Linked DNA regions of Homo sapiens: region 1 is linked to region 2. Evidence: promoter capture Hi-C in 16 types of primary human blood cells and fetal thymus (Javierre and others, 2016). All regions are on one chromosome and are shown on one strand. The core of a region is centred on a gene start or on the middle of the fragment in contact, and the rest is flanking DNA. Distances in the headings are between cores, read along the strand shown.

Region 1 (6,578 bases), core at 416-2,915, 160 kb before region 2:
GATCCCTACCGGTGGTGTAGGTTGCTCATTCTCCTTGACTGGGGCAACCAGAGAAGGATCATTTTCTATTCCTACTTCCTCTCCAGTCCTGAGCTCAGCTTCTGATGGCAGAAGAGCCCTGAAACCTCCTAAAATAGCCTCCTGCTGGAGAGAGGTAATGCAATGCATACCACAGTATGCATATTGATTTCTATTTTTGGTTCTTATCAAGATTTATTTTGCATCGCTTCAGGTAATAGTGACCTTGGACTCACCGCCTTCCATATTTGCAGCCTGGGTCAATGAATCTTGGTATTGACCTCAGGAGCCATCAATAGCTGCTTATTGTCGAGATATTTCAATGTCAATAAGTGGCCCCATGGAAGTGGGAGGGGGGCTGCCCAGCAAACCCAGCAGCTAAAAAACCAATCCCTTTTCTCCCAGTTGTCATCTTGGCACAGAAGGGGCTGGTTCTAAAATTGATTAACTTTCTTGCAGAGAGTGGGAAAACAAACTCCCAAACATAGCCTGAATCCTGCAAAGGGAACTTTCTCAGAATTACTATCCATTACTATGAAAGGAGAGAAACACCCATGTGTGTTCTGTCTCTGTCTTCCCTCCCTCTCTCTCCCTCCCGCGTCTCCCTTCTTCCTGACTTTCCTCCCCTCCGTGTCACATTCAATCCTATAGGGACATCCACAAGACTTTGGAAAGAGATACCTGGTTACTGGAACAGGTATTAACCCACCCAAGCTTACCTGATTGAAGATCAGGCAGATTGATCTAGTAAAAAGAGTTTGCCTTGTGGCATCAGACACTCCTAGGAGCAAATCCTGGAGTGTTATGACCGACACGTGTTTTCATCTGTACTGTGGGCATACTACCTACCTTGATGTGAAGAATGGAGATTCTGTCTGTATGTGACCGGCACCTAGTAGGTGTTTCATAAATCCAAGTTCAGGCTTTATTATTATGATACTTGCCAAGTTGAGAGGTCAGGACTCTCCACTTGTAGTTTCTGCTCTCACTCCCTCACATTCTCTGCCATATTCATTTATTCCTGCTTCCCCACTGATAAAAAGATGAAAAAAATGGACATGTGGCTGCGCTGAAATCCTCTTGGTATGGTTTGTATGTGTGTCCCCACCCAAATCTCATGAGAAATTGTAATCCCCAGTGTTGGAGGAGAAGCCTGGTGGGAAGTGAGTGGATCCTGGGGACAGGTTTTCTTCTTGCTCTTCTCATGATAGTGAGTGATCTGGTTGTCTAAAAGTGTGTAGCACCCTCTCCTTCGCTCTATTCCTCCTGTTCTGGCCGTGGAAGACGTGCCAGCTTCCACTTTGCCTTCTGCTATGATTGTAGGTCTCCTGAGGTCTCCCTAGCCATGCCTCCTGTGCAGCCTGCAGAAATGTGAGTCAATTAAACCTCTTTTCTTTATAAATTACCCAGTTTCAGGTAGTTCTTTAGAGCAACGTGAGAACAGACTAATATCTCTCTCTTATGATCAAACTGTGTTAATCTGTCTTTACTGGCCATGCTTTCAGCAATTGGCCCACTTATTCATCCACCTTGGTATGCCTGGCCTGGCTGCATGAAGGCACAGCTGATCTTGGGCACAGTTCTCCAGGCCCAGGGCAGGGGCAGGGGCTGTCTGTGGCCTCTGCTGGGCAGCATTGTTTCAGCTTCCTTCTGTGTGAGTACTGTGGCTCCCTGTTCCCGTCTGCTTTCTCTCTCTTCCTTTCTTTCTCCGTGGTCACCTCTAAGCTCCCAGCAGCCCTGGTGATGAATCTCTCCCACCTCTTCTTTCCCTAGGCCCTGCCCTGCTGAGGGTGGCTTGGACTGAGTGCAACTTTGGAGATGATGGAGAAGGAGAAGGAGAAAGCGAACACCCTACTGTGCCTTGACTCTGCCTTTCGGCCAGAGTGGTGACTTTTCCCGATGGTGATGGAAAGATGCTCACACAGAGGTGGGTAGAAGATGCCAGGAAAGAGAAGAAACCTGGTGCTCACACGTTGCAAACAGGATTTCACTGAGTGCTCAAAATAATCCTGGGTGGTAGGCATTAGTATACTCATTTAACAGATAGGAAAACAGAGGCTCAGAGAGTTTAAGAGATGAGATTGGAACTCTGTCTGACTCCAGTCTCATGCATAATTGAACATTTGTGTTGGAAAGAAGGATTCTGGGGACGGAGGAGACATATGAGGACTTTCAAGCATCTGATTTGGTTAAAGAGTTGTAATAGATGCCCTTGATGTCCTTATCCTGCCCTGGATCTGAAATTCTAAGAATAGAAACAGAGAGCACCAAACTTGCTCAAGACCATTTCCTGGTACAGCAGCTCAGTTCTCAAAGCCCTGTTTCCTGTCAGGGGTAGATTTAACCAACCATGGGCCAGCTTTGGGCAGATTTCCAAATCCTCTGCCTAGTGCCACCTCTGGACACTGGCTCTTGGTGCCAAAAATGTAACTTCAAAGCAAACACCCCAAACTTAGAATAATCAGGCTGAATTTTAAATTTGCATATGCACATAAACACTTGTCCACTCACTCAGTCCCCTCCCAACGAAGCAGAAAGTAAAAGATCACGTGAGCCAGCAGTAACTATGTCTAATGGCGATGAAGCTTCAGGACAGAGGCAGGAGTTTGCTCTTTTATTTATTTATTCATGAACGCCACAAACACGTATTGCACGCTTACCATGTGTCAGACAGGGCATGAGGACTTGATCACAAAAGATGGAAATCACGTGTTAATTGTTGAGTAAGCACATTTTGGTTTAGTGATGAGTGTATTCTGTGGATAATGTATGTATATGTATATAGTACATATATGCACGTGTGTGTGTGCATTTGGGTGCATGTGTATATATGTATACAATTTATTAACTACAGGGTTTTTGCTGTCAAGGAACTCAAAGTTCAACAGAGAAGACAGACATGAAAACAATTATGATATTTTGAGAAAAATAGCTTTAATGTAGGCAGGATCAAAGAACAGAGGAGACTAGTATAAGAAGTGCCCAAGGCTATGGGGAAATTGGGAAAGACTTCAAGGAGGAAGATGTGGAGGCTGAGGGAGCATCTTCCAGATAGACAAGAGGCTCAGGAGCTGCCCGGGCAGAAGGAACATACATTCACTTAATCACTGCTTATTAGAACATCTGCTTCTGGTTAGAATGGATTTTTGCTATCAGTTAGGATGCAGAAAATTACAAGAGACCATCACTTTGATTTTCTTTCCCCCAAACAAAAACAAGCTACATAAGTTACAAAATCACCTCTTTTAAAATCCATCAGAGAGCTGAGGACATAAATTTGCAAGCCCTTCCTAGGACAGAAGAGACTCATGACTGGAGGGTGGTGAGAGGAGGGGTAAACCCAGCATGGATAGGGGTACAAAGAAACAAGCCAAACTATAATCAACTTTTTTATTTTTTATTTTTTTTTTGAGATGGAGTCTCACTCTGTCACTCAGGCTGGAGTGCAGTGGCACAGTCTCGGCTCACTGCAACCTCTGCCTCCTGGGTTTAAGCAATTCTCCTGCCTCAACCTCCCGAGTAGCTGGGACCACAGGTGCGTGCCACCACATCCGGCTAACTTTTTGTATATTTTAGTACAGATGGGGTTTCACCGTGTTAGCCAGGATGGTCTCTATCTCTTGACCCCGTGATCTGCCTGCCTCAGCCTGCCAAAGTGTAATCAACTTTTAATAGTCATGTAGAGGCCAACATGACAGATTTGTAGCCCGTGGATCCCAGTCACAATTCCCACCTTTACCTCCAAATGTATGGCTATGGTGGAGGCAAATCAGGAGAGCTGAGATATGTCCTTGGTGTGTTCCAGGATGTCACCAAGGGCAAGGCAGATGCCAGCGAGAGGACATGGCCAGAGAAGTGGAATGAAGAGACATCACCCCAGAGGGAAAGCCGAACTCAGTGGACCCAAAAGCCAAAGCAGAGCGCGATCAGCTGTGGTTCAGAAGACTTGCTGGAATTCAGATCCCGAATCCTGCTGCAGGGATCCAACCCTCAAAACATTTGAAGTCCATAGTGAACTGGCTGTCACTAGAGCTGAGACTCAACTCAACTCAACCACAGAATAAGTTGACTCAGCCTCTCACTTCAGTGAGTAATTATACTTTAGACTATATTACTATATATGTATTATATATAATTGTAATATAATTATATAATATATGATATATAATATATAAGAAATAATATATAATATATGATATATAGATTAAGTAATGCATGTATATTATATGCATATTATATGGTGTATATATAGTATATATACATATATACTATATAGTAGAAATTATATAGTATTTATTTATATTATATAGTATATATATTTCTTACTTCCTACTTTCTACTTCCTTTTGTGTGAGTATGGTGGCTTTCTATTATATTATATTATATCTTATTATATTATATTATTTCTATTATATTCTATAATAGAAATATTATATAGTATGTGGTATACTATATGTAATATAGACTCTATTATTAATACTTTAGACTCTCCTGTTCATCTATACACAATGTCTGAAATATAATTACAAATTACAAAGCACTTGTTGAAGCAAGAAATGTGACCTATAATCAAAAGGGAAAAAAGTCATTAAAGCAGATCCATGGATATTCCAGATGTTACGATAAGCCAACAAAGATATTAAAGTAACAATTTTAGATATTTTAATGGATTCAGTTTGAGAAGTGAACAACATACGTGAACAGATGGGGAATTTCAGCATCAAACTACTGAAAAACTCAGATGGTTATTCTAAAACAGAAAACTACTGTATCATAAATAAAGAATTCACTGAATGGGCTTAATAGCAGACTGGACACCATAGCAGAAAAGATTGGTGAACTTTAAGTTGGGCCAGAAGAAACCACCTGACTAAGAACATGACAACAAACTAACAGATCATCTGGGCCCTGGGAAAAATACCAATATGACCTAATATACATATAATTGGAGCCCCGGAAGAAGAGGAGAGAAAATGCAGTGAAGAAATATTTGAGCAGATAATAGTCAAGAATATTTGAGGGCCAGGCGTGGTGGCTCATGCCTGTATTCCCAGCACTTTGGGAGGCCAAGGTGGGTGGATCATTTGAGGCCAAGAGTTCGAGATCAGCCTGGCCAACATGGCAAAACCCTGTCCATTCCAAAAAATACAAAAAATTAACCAGGTACAGTGGTGCACACCTGTAGTCCCAGCTACTTGGGAGGCTGAGATGGTAGAATCACTTGACTCCTGGACGTGGAGGTTGCAGTGAGCCAAGATTGTACTACTGCTCTCCAGCCTGGGTGACAGAGAGAGACTTTGTCTCAAAAAAAAAAAAAGAAAAAAAAGAAAGAATATATTAAAATTGGTTAAGGACATTAACCTATAGATTCAAGAGGTTTAGTAATCTCTAATCAGTGTAAACATGTACAAAACCATACCCACCCATATCATAATCAAACTGTTGAAAACCTAAAGAGAAATAAAAACTTTAAAGCCACCAACTAAAATTATATTTTAAGGGGAATAAGAATGAGAATGATGAGTGACTCCACACACACACAAAAATTAGAGGCCAGAAGACAATGAATGACATCTTTAAAGTGTGAAAAATAAAAACTGAATTTTCAAAAACTGAATTTTCAATCTAGGATTTGATGCCCAGTGAAAATATTCTTAAAAAAACAGAGGTGAAACAGAAATGTTTTCAGATGACAAAAGCTGAGAAAATTTTCTCCTGCAGATTTGGATTACAAAAAATGACAAAAAATGCTAAAAGAAGTTTTTCAGGGTAGAAGGGAAATAATACCAGATGGGAAGAAATGAAGAATAATGCCTGTGGGAAGAAATGAAGAGTATCAAAAAGTATAAGCCTGATGATATTAAAAATTATATTTATGTGTTATGTAAATATATTTCTAAACTTCTGTAGAAGACTATTGTCAAAAGTACAAATTATAACAATGTATTGTGGGGTTTTACCTTATGTAGAAGTAAAATATATAGCAGTGAGGGCACATTATGCAGCGGTAAGAGTTTTACGTTGTTTGTAAAATAGTGCAACATTATTTACAGACAAACTGTGTTAAGTTGAAGATGCATATTGCACCCTAGAGTAACCATGAAATATTAACACAAAGGTATTACTGAAAAAAAATCAGTGGAAGAGATGAAATAGAATACTGAAAAATAATTAATCCAAAAAGCTGGCAGGGAGTGGAGAAGAGGGGAACAAAAAATAGGACAATGAGAAAGCAAATATTGAAAGTAGACTTAAATTTAACAATATGAATAATTTTTAAAATTATAAATGGACCTAATTCTCAAATTAAAAGACAGAAATTATCAGAATGGATAAAAGCAAGGTCTGACTACATGCTGTTTCTAAGAAGCATGGTTTATTATTATTTTTTATTTCAATAGCTTTTGGGGTACAAGTGGTTTTTTTGTTACATAGATAAATTATAGAGGCCGGGCGCGGTGGCTCACACCTGTAATCCCAGCACTTTGGGAGGCTGAGGTGGGCGGATCATGAGGTCAGGAGTTCGAGACCAGCCTGGCCGACATGGTGAAACCCTGTCT
Region 2 (7,292 bases), core at 4,033-6,532:
GTAGGTATGGTTAGTTTTATTTTGTGGGTGAGAAAACAGGCTCAGAAAGGTTATGAAACTGGCTCAGGGTCACATAGCGGGTGGCTGAAATTTAAATCTGGGTCTTCTGACCCAAAGCCTGGTGGTTTCCCATCTGCCCTCTTGATGCAGGAGTCCAAAGAGGAGGCCAGGGGGCATGCTCAGAAGCTGCGAAGGGGAGCTAGACCTGCCTCCATCAAGGAGTCCAGGTGTCTGGGATCCACCTGTCTACCTCCCTCCCAACCTTATGGAATATTCCTCAGAGTCTCCCCCTACCCAAATTTGGTAGGGTTTCTCTTCGTTCAGAAGCTCTGGCCTTCTTCTTCAGCTATTTCCTTATTTTGGTGGTGTCTGAGTGAACCCAGGACAAGACCTGCCAAGGAATTTTCTATGTCAGTCTGAAAGAAAAGCTCACCTCCTCCATCGCTTGCAGCAGGGGTTCCAGCTGGAGTCTGCAAAGCCAGGGCGATTCTCCCTTCCCCATAAGGGACATCTGGATATGTCTGGACACATTTCTGATTGTCACATCTGGGAGGGTGGGTGCTGATGACGTCTGGTGGGTAAATGCCAGGAGTGGTGTTAAACATCCGGCAAGGCCCGGGACAGCCCCCGCCACAAAGAATAATTCAGCTCAAAGTGTCACCACTGCTGTGGTTGAGAAACCTGCTGTGAAAAATGCCAGGAGGGAGGAGAAAGGAGCCCCTTAACTTCAGTGCCTTATGTCCATGGGACACTGACACCCCCAGGCAGAAGCAGCCACTTCACTTGGCAGGGCGGCACAAAATGAAAATGTTGCAATTCTTGTGAAAAATGATTTAAAATTTCAAGACAGCAACAGCAGACCATTAAACAAGGGCCTGTGGGACTGGCCAGGACACCCACCTAGGAAGCTGGAAAGAGCTCTCTGCTGGTCCCTGGGATCCCCTGGGTGCCCTGTCCTCAGCTCTCAGGCTTGTAGTCACACGACTCCTCCAAAGAGTTCAGGCCAGAACACTGAGACGGCAGTGCCTGCTGAGAATCTGAAGTGGCAGACTCACCTTTCCTTTATGGAGGAAAAAATCTCACTTTTGACTGTCAGGGAATGAAGGGACAGGACTCAGAGGACTGTCTAGGAGGTCCTGAGTCCTCCCCCGTCCTACTGCTTCTTGGGAGGGTCAATATGCCACGAGGGTTTTCAAGCACAAAGTAATTAAGAGGAGGAGCAGAAAGCTTCCAGTCTCCAAGCTGGTAGCCCCCAGGGCTGAATCTGTGGTTTTCTGTTTGCTGTGACACTTCATCTGTAGAGGGCCGCTCTGGGAAAGAGCGGTGCATACTGGGCTCCATCTGAGGAACAGATCCTGGAAATGACCTTCTCTCCTTGTCTCTCCCTGTCTCTCCCACACCCCCTCAATAAGCAGCCTCCTGCCATTTATTTCAATGATATTGCTTTTGTTTTGTTTCATTTTTCTTAAGCATTTTATTTTTATTTTTATTTTTGAGAGGGAGTCTTCCTCCGTCACCCAGGCTGGAGTGCAGTGGCATGATTTTGGCTCACTGCAACTCTGCCTCCCAGGTTCAAGCGATTCTCCTGCCTCAGCCTCTGGAGCAGCTGAGATTACAGGCACACACCACCACACCTGGATAATTTTTGTATTTTAGTAGAGACCCGTTTTTGTCATGTTGGCCAGGCTGGTCTCGAACTCCTGGCTTTAAGTGATCTGCCCGCCTCGGCCTCCCAAAGTGCTGGGATTACAGGCGTGAGCCACTGTGCCCAGCCTTGAGCATTTTACAGTTAGATTGTTCTTCAGGGTTGAGGGTGTTTTTGCAAACCATCTCACATGCCTTTGAGAAGATCGGAGGGAGGGCTGCAGGGGTGTGAGTGGTAGCCCAGGTGGACAGGAGCAGCCACGAGGGGCCCACCGTGAATCAGATCGTCTGTGGAACAGGAGAGAAGGGCCCTGCCACCTGCTCAGGCAGCCCCCACAGCAGATAGTTGTAGATTTCCAGAGCTTCAGCTTCCCTTTCAAGAGTGGAGGGGAAAAAAAGCAAGAGGAAGGCCTGGGGGCTAGGGCAACCCACCCACCAGACAATGATCACAGACCAGCCACCATCAGCCACAAATTCTGCAGCTCAGGTCTAATAGTAATCACTGGTGCTGTAAACATTTAAGCACCTACTGCCTTCTGGTACGCATATGGGCATCAGCATGGTAAGTAGCGAAGAGCATGGATGGACCCTTGAACCAGACTCCAGCTTGAATTCCAACTGCCACTTAATGGCTGTATAACCTTAATCTCTCTGTGACTTAGTTTCCTTGTGTATAAAGTGTGGGACCTACCTCATCGGGGTCACTATCCATAGCTTAATTTTTATAAAGTGCTTAGGAAAGTATTTGACACGTGGTAAGCACTAATATAAAGAGGTGTAAAGAAAAATCATGCCTATAATCCTAGCACTTTGGGAGGCTGAGGTGGGTGGATCACTTGAGGTCAGGAGTTCAAAATCAGCCTGGCCAACATGAAGAAACCCCGTCTCTACTAAAAATAGAAAAAAATTAGCTGGGCGTGATGGTGCACACCTGTAATCCCTGCTACTCAGGAGGCTGAGGCAGGAGAATTGCTTAAACCCGGGAGGCAGAGGTTGCAGTGAGCTATCGCACCACTGCACTCCAGCCTGGGCAACAGAGCGAGACTCTGACTCAAAAGAAAGACAAAAATTAAATTACCAGATTTAATCCCCATGGTAACCCTAAGAGGTAGGGACTGTTATCGTCCACATTAATAGACAGGACACTTGGAACACAGAGAGGCTGAGACCCAGGTCCAGAGTCACACAGCTCGTCTGAGGCAGAGCCTGGATTCAAATCCAAGCAGTCTGGCTTTCTGTAGGACTGTGTCCTCTCTCCAAGGGGAGGATGGAGCTTGACCACCTGTGTTCAGGTCCTGGCTTACCCATCAATTAGCTTGGGCTCCAATATCCTCCTCTGAAGTCAAGGAGGTTCCCCAGATGTCGTGGATGACTCCCATGAGTGGCTCTTAGAGGCCAGGAGGCCTGGGTGTCTAGTCAGTGTCCTGGCCTCAGTCCTGGCCTCTGGGACAAGGGAATTGTGGATAGGGGAGCAGCTGTCCCTGAGCAGGGTGGATGGATGTGGCAGTTTCCAGCCCAGCTCACTGCACCCGCTGTCAGCCGTTATTGAAACACATAGCCAGGGCTGGGTAACAAGACGGCCACAGAAATGATCTGAAGTGGATTTAATCATTGCCCTGGTCCCTGCCAACTCTTGTCCACTTAGGGGTTTTGCCTGTCTCGCTCGGACTTGACAGTCTGGACACTCAAGGTGATGAGCTGCCCAGAGCACCCAAGACCCAGACTCCACCCAGGACTGTCCTCTCCTGGACCACCTGCCTGAAACTTCCATCCTGACCCTTCTCCACCTTCTCAATGGGACCTGGGGTGAGAGCCCAAGCTGGGAGCGCCGGCCTGGCATTGTGTAGTTTAGACAAGTCCTTGAAGCAGGGCAGGTGGGGGAATGGGGAGGAGTCGGGGGCTCAGGCCCCCATGTTCCTCCCCAGCACAGCCTCACCTGCTCTGCCTCAGAGTGACTCAGGACAAAATCCCCAGGTGGCTCTGATGGTACTTGAAGTGACAGAGGGAAGGAGGAATCTGGAATGGAGACCCCAGCCCCAGGCCCTTGAGCTCAACCCAGCACCAGCCCCCAGACCTGTTCACTCTTTGGCCTTCCAGGGCCAGCCCCAGGCTGGGCTGTCACTGATGTGGGTGAGCAGGAGTGGTCCCCGTTCCTCACAGGGGCTTCTCTCTATGCACACCTCACATCATCCCCCGACCTCCAGGCATAAACCAGCCTTGCAGCCCTGACTCCAGACCTGTCCAGAGAAAGTGCCACCTGCCTGGGGAGCTGATGCAGATGAGAGGGAAGGAGAGAGAGACAGTGTCCCCTGCACCATGCCCTGAACTTCCCAAGGGACCTTCATCAAGCTCCCCTGGGGGCTGTATTGTTAAAATGCACAGATTCTTGGACCTCGACTCTGGACTTCCAGAAGCGAAATCTCTGCGGGGGTGGAGGAATTGGGCACTGATTCTAATGAAGTCCCCAGGGCAATCTCACCTGCTTTAGAGCAGAGGTTGGTACCCTGGCTGCACATCAGAGTCTCATGGGAAATCTAAACACATCCGTTCCAGGGCCTCACCCCCAGACCAAGCAGACCAGTGTCAGGGCTGGACATCAGGCATTCGTATTTTGTAAAAAATGATTAAAATGTGCACCCAGGGTTGAGAACTGCTTCAGAATTTGCAGACCTCCAGCTGGGTCTGACCCAGGAAAACAGGAAACAAGAGAGATGGTGTCAGCTGGGGCCCTTCACTGGTGGGGCCAGGTGGGTGGGGGGAACATCCCCACGATCCAGGCGACCCCCACCGCTGGCCAGGCAACCTCATGGCTGAAGGCGAGGAGGGACGCAGGCACGAGGGCCTTGGCGTAAGGAAGCTGGCTCTGCAGTCAGGCCCTGCCCTGGGGCTGTTCAGATGCCCAGGAGGGCAGGTTTATGCGAATGAAGCAATTACAGAACCATTTAAAAGAGTGAGGGAACTTGGTCCAGAAATGCCTGTGGAGCTTTCAAAAGGGGTGAGTGACCTCATCCAGCCAAGAAAGGGTCTGGGAGAGAAGCTGGAGGCCGAGGTCTTCAGTCTAGGCTAGGGGAGGGGAGAGAACGTTTAAGAGGGTGGCAGGCATTCCTGTCCCAAGTCACCAACTGGGTAGCGCTCTTGTTTGTCTTATGCAAGAGTGTTTAGATAAGAACAGGCTTTTGCATTTCAAAAAGGAGCCTGTTCTTCCTCGCCTTGCTTCTTCCTGTGCTGAGTAAACGGAAGGCACACCCTTGTTTCCCTCCCTATTCACAGCTCCTCTGTCCGCCACAAAGACAACCTCCTCCCCTTCTGCCCTCGTCTTCTGCCTGTGGACATTCAAGGGACCCCGCTCCTCCTTCATCCTTTCTCTCCTGCACGAATGAATCGTTTCCCGTGAATCTGCTCTTTGAAAAACCCCTTCCTAACTTCCATCTCTCTTCCTCTGCTCTCTTTGATGCCATCGCTTCTTAAAAGGGAGGCCTAGACTCACTGCTGTCTCACTTTTGTACGTTTATTTTCATCATGGTAAAATATACATAGCATAATATTTACCATTTGAGCCCTTTTAAGGTGTACAATTCAGTGGCATTTACATTCAAAACATTGTGCAACCATCCTGATGATCTATTTCCAGAGCTTTTTTTTTTTTTTTTAAATCATCCCAAACAAATTCTGGAACTGTGAGATAATAATGTCCCATTCTTTTCTCCTCCCAGTTCCTGGTAACCTCCATTCTTTCTGTCTCTATGAATTTGCCTATTGTAGAAACCTCGTGTAAGTGACATCATTCCATATGGGGCCTTTGTGTCTGGCTTATTTCACCTAACATCATGTTGCAGCAAGGTTCATTTCATTTCTTTTTATGGCTGAATAATATTCCCTCGTACAGATGGACAGCAGGTGTTGACCTATTCATCGGTTGTCTATTCGGCCTCCACAATCCACTGTTTTCATCCCTTCTTGCTGTCTCTACTTCTATGACCCTGGCCTAAGTCACCATTTTCTTCCACCAGAGTGCTCAGTGGCCTCCTCTGAGATTTCACTCTTTTTTTTTTCTTTTAAACAGCGTTATTGAAATGTAATTCATATATTATGTAATTCTCCCATTTAAAGTGGACAATTCAGGCTACTCTGCCTATGGAGTGGCCATGCTTTTGTTTCTTTACTTCTCTAATAAGCTTGCTTTCACTTAAAAAAAAAAAGTATACAATTCAATGGTTGCTAGTATATTCCATGTAGCTGCAATCGTCACCGTGGTCCATTTTACAGCATTTGTATCACCTCAAAAAGAAGCTCTGACCCTTCAGCTATCTCCCCTCCCCAACGCTCACCCTTACAGCCCTAGGCAACTAGTAATCTACTTTCTGTCTCTAGAGATTTGCCTCTTCTGGGCATTTTGTCTAAATGGAATCATACAATCCGTGGTCTTTTGTGAATGGCTTCCTTCACTTATCGTGATGGTTCCCGGGTTCATTCATGCTGTCCTATCGGCACTTCATTCCTTTCTATGGCCAAATAACTACCTCATTGTATGGATTCATTGGTGGACATTTATGTCGTTTCTATCTTTGGGCTATTACAAATAATGCTGCTTTAAACATTTTGTACAGGTTTCTGTATGAATATATGTTTTCGTTTCTCGTGGGTCTATACAGAGGAGTGGAACTGTGGGTCACACGGTAACTCTGTGTAATCGTTTGAGGACCTGCAGGCCACAGTGGCTGTCCTGCCTCCTCTCTTGCCTCTTTCAAAACTCCTCTTCACAGAGCAGCTGATGCGATCTTTCAAAAATGAACTTCAAATCATGTTTCATCTTTCTTGTAAAATCCTTCAATGACTTCCCAGCGTTCTTAGAATAAAACAAACATCATCACCATGGTCTACAAGACCCTGTGGCTGGGCACCAACTCCTTCTGGGACCATCCCTGCCTGCCTGTAGGGCTCCCGCTCCTTTGGGCGTCCCGGCCGCTGCTCCAGCAGGCCTAGGAACTTTCTCGTGAAGTCATCTGCGCTGGCTCCTCCCTCTGCTGGAACAGTCTTCGCTCTTGTTTCAGCCTCCTGTGGACGCTGTAACCAATTGCCATCAACTGGGTGCCTTCAAACAACAGAAATGGCTTCTCTCATCATTGTGGAGGCCCAGCTCTAAAGTCAAGGTCTTGCCAGGGGCCTGTTCCCTCTGAAGGCTGTGGGAGAGCATCCTCTTTGCCTCTTCCAGCTGCAGGTGGTTACCACCAATCCTCCGGGTTCCCTGGCTTGTAGCTGCATCGCTGCAGCCTCTGCCACTGTTGTCACGAGGCCATCTCCCTCTGCGTGTCTGTGCTTTCACTGTCTTTCCTCTGTGCATGGCTGTGTCTCTTCTCCCTTCATATGAGGACACAAATCATATTGGGTTAAGGGCCCATCTTACTCTAGTATGACCTCACATTAACTACATCTGCAATGATCCTATTTGCACATAAGATCATATTCTGGCAGGGCATGGTGGCACACGCTGCAATCCCTGCACTTTGGGAGGTCAAGGTGGGAGGATTGCTTGAGGCCAGGATTCAAGACCAGCCTGGGCAACACACTAAGACCCTGATTCTTTAAAAAAAAAAAAAAAAAAAAAAAATTCTGAGGTTCCTGGAGAAAATATGAATGGTGGTGGGGGC

The links. The method cuts DNA at HindIII sites, captures the fragments that hold promoters and counts their contacts. A CHiCAGO score of 5 or more calls a contact.
Region 1: a fragment that was not itself captured here is called in contact with the fragment with the promoter of LINC00469 in region 2 in 1 of 17 cell types (naive CD4 T cells); the score reaches 5.1 in naive CD4 T cells.

The regions. Positions count from the first base shown.
Region 1 is chr17:73,665,019-73,671,596 of GRCh38, forward strand. No RefSeq gene overlaps it. Among named protein-coding and RNA genes, the nearest start is that of SDK2, 24 kb to the left of the region's middle. The HindIII fragment of the contact is 1,871 bases long and covers 731-2,601 here.
Region 2 is chr17:73,823,255-73,830,546 of GRCh38, forward strand. It overlaps LINC00469 (long intergenic non-protein coding RNA 469), which reads right to left and starts at 5,283. Exons shown (of 4, transcript NR_027146.1): 1 at 5,194-5,283; 2 at 434-571. RefSeq lists enhancers at 4,620-5,129, 6,120-6,621, 6,622-7,121. The HindIII fragment of the contact is 4,592 bases long and covers 1,226-5,817 here.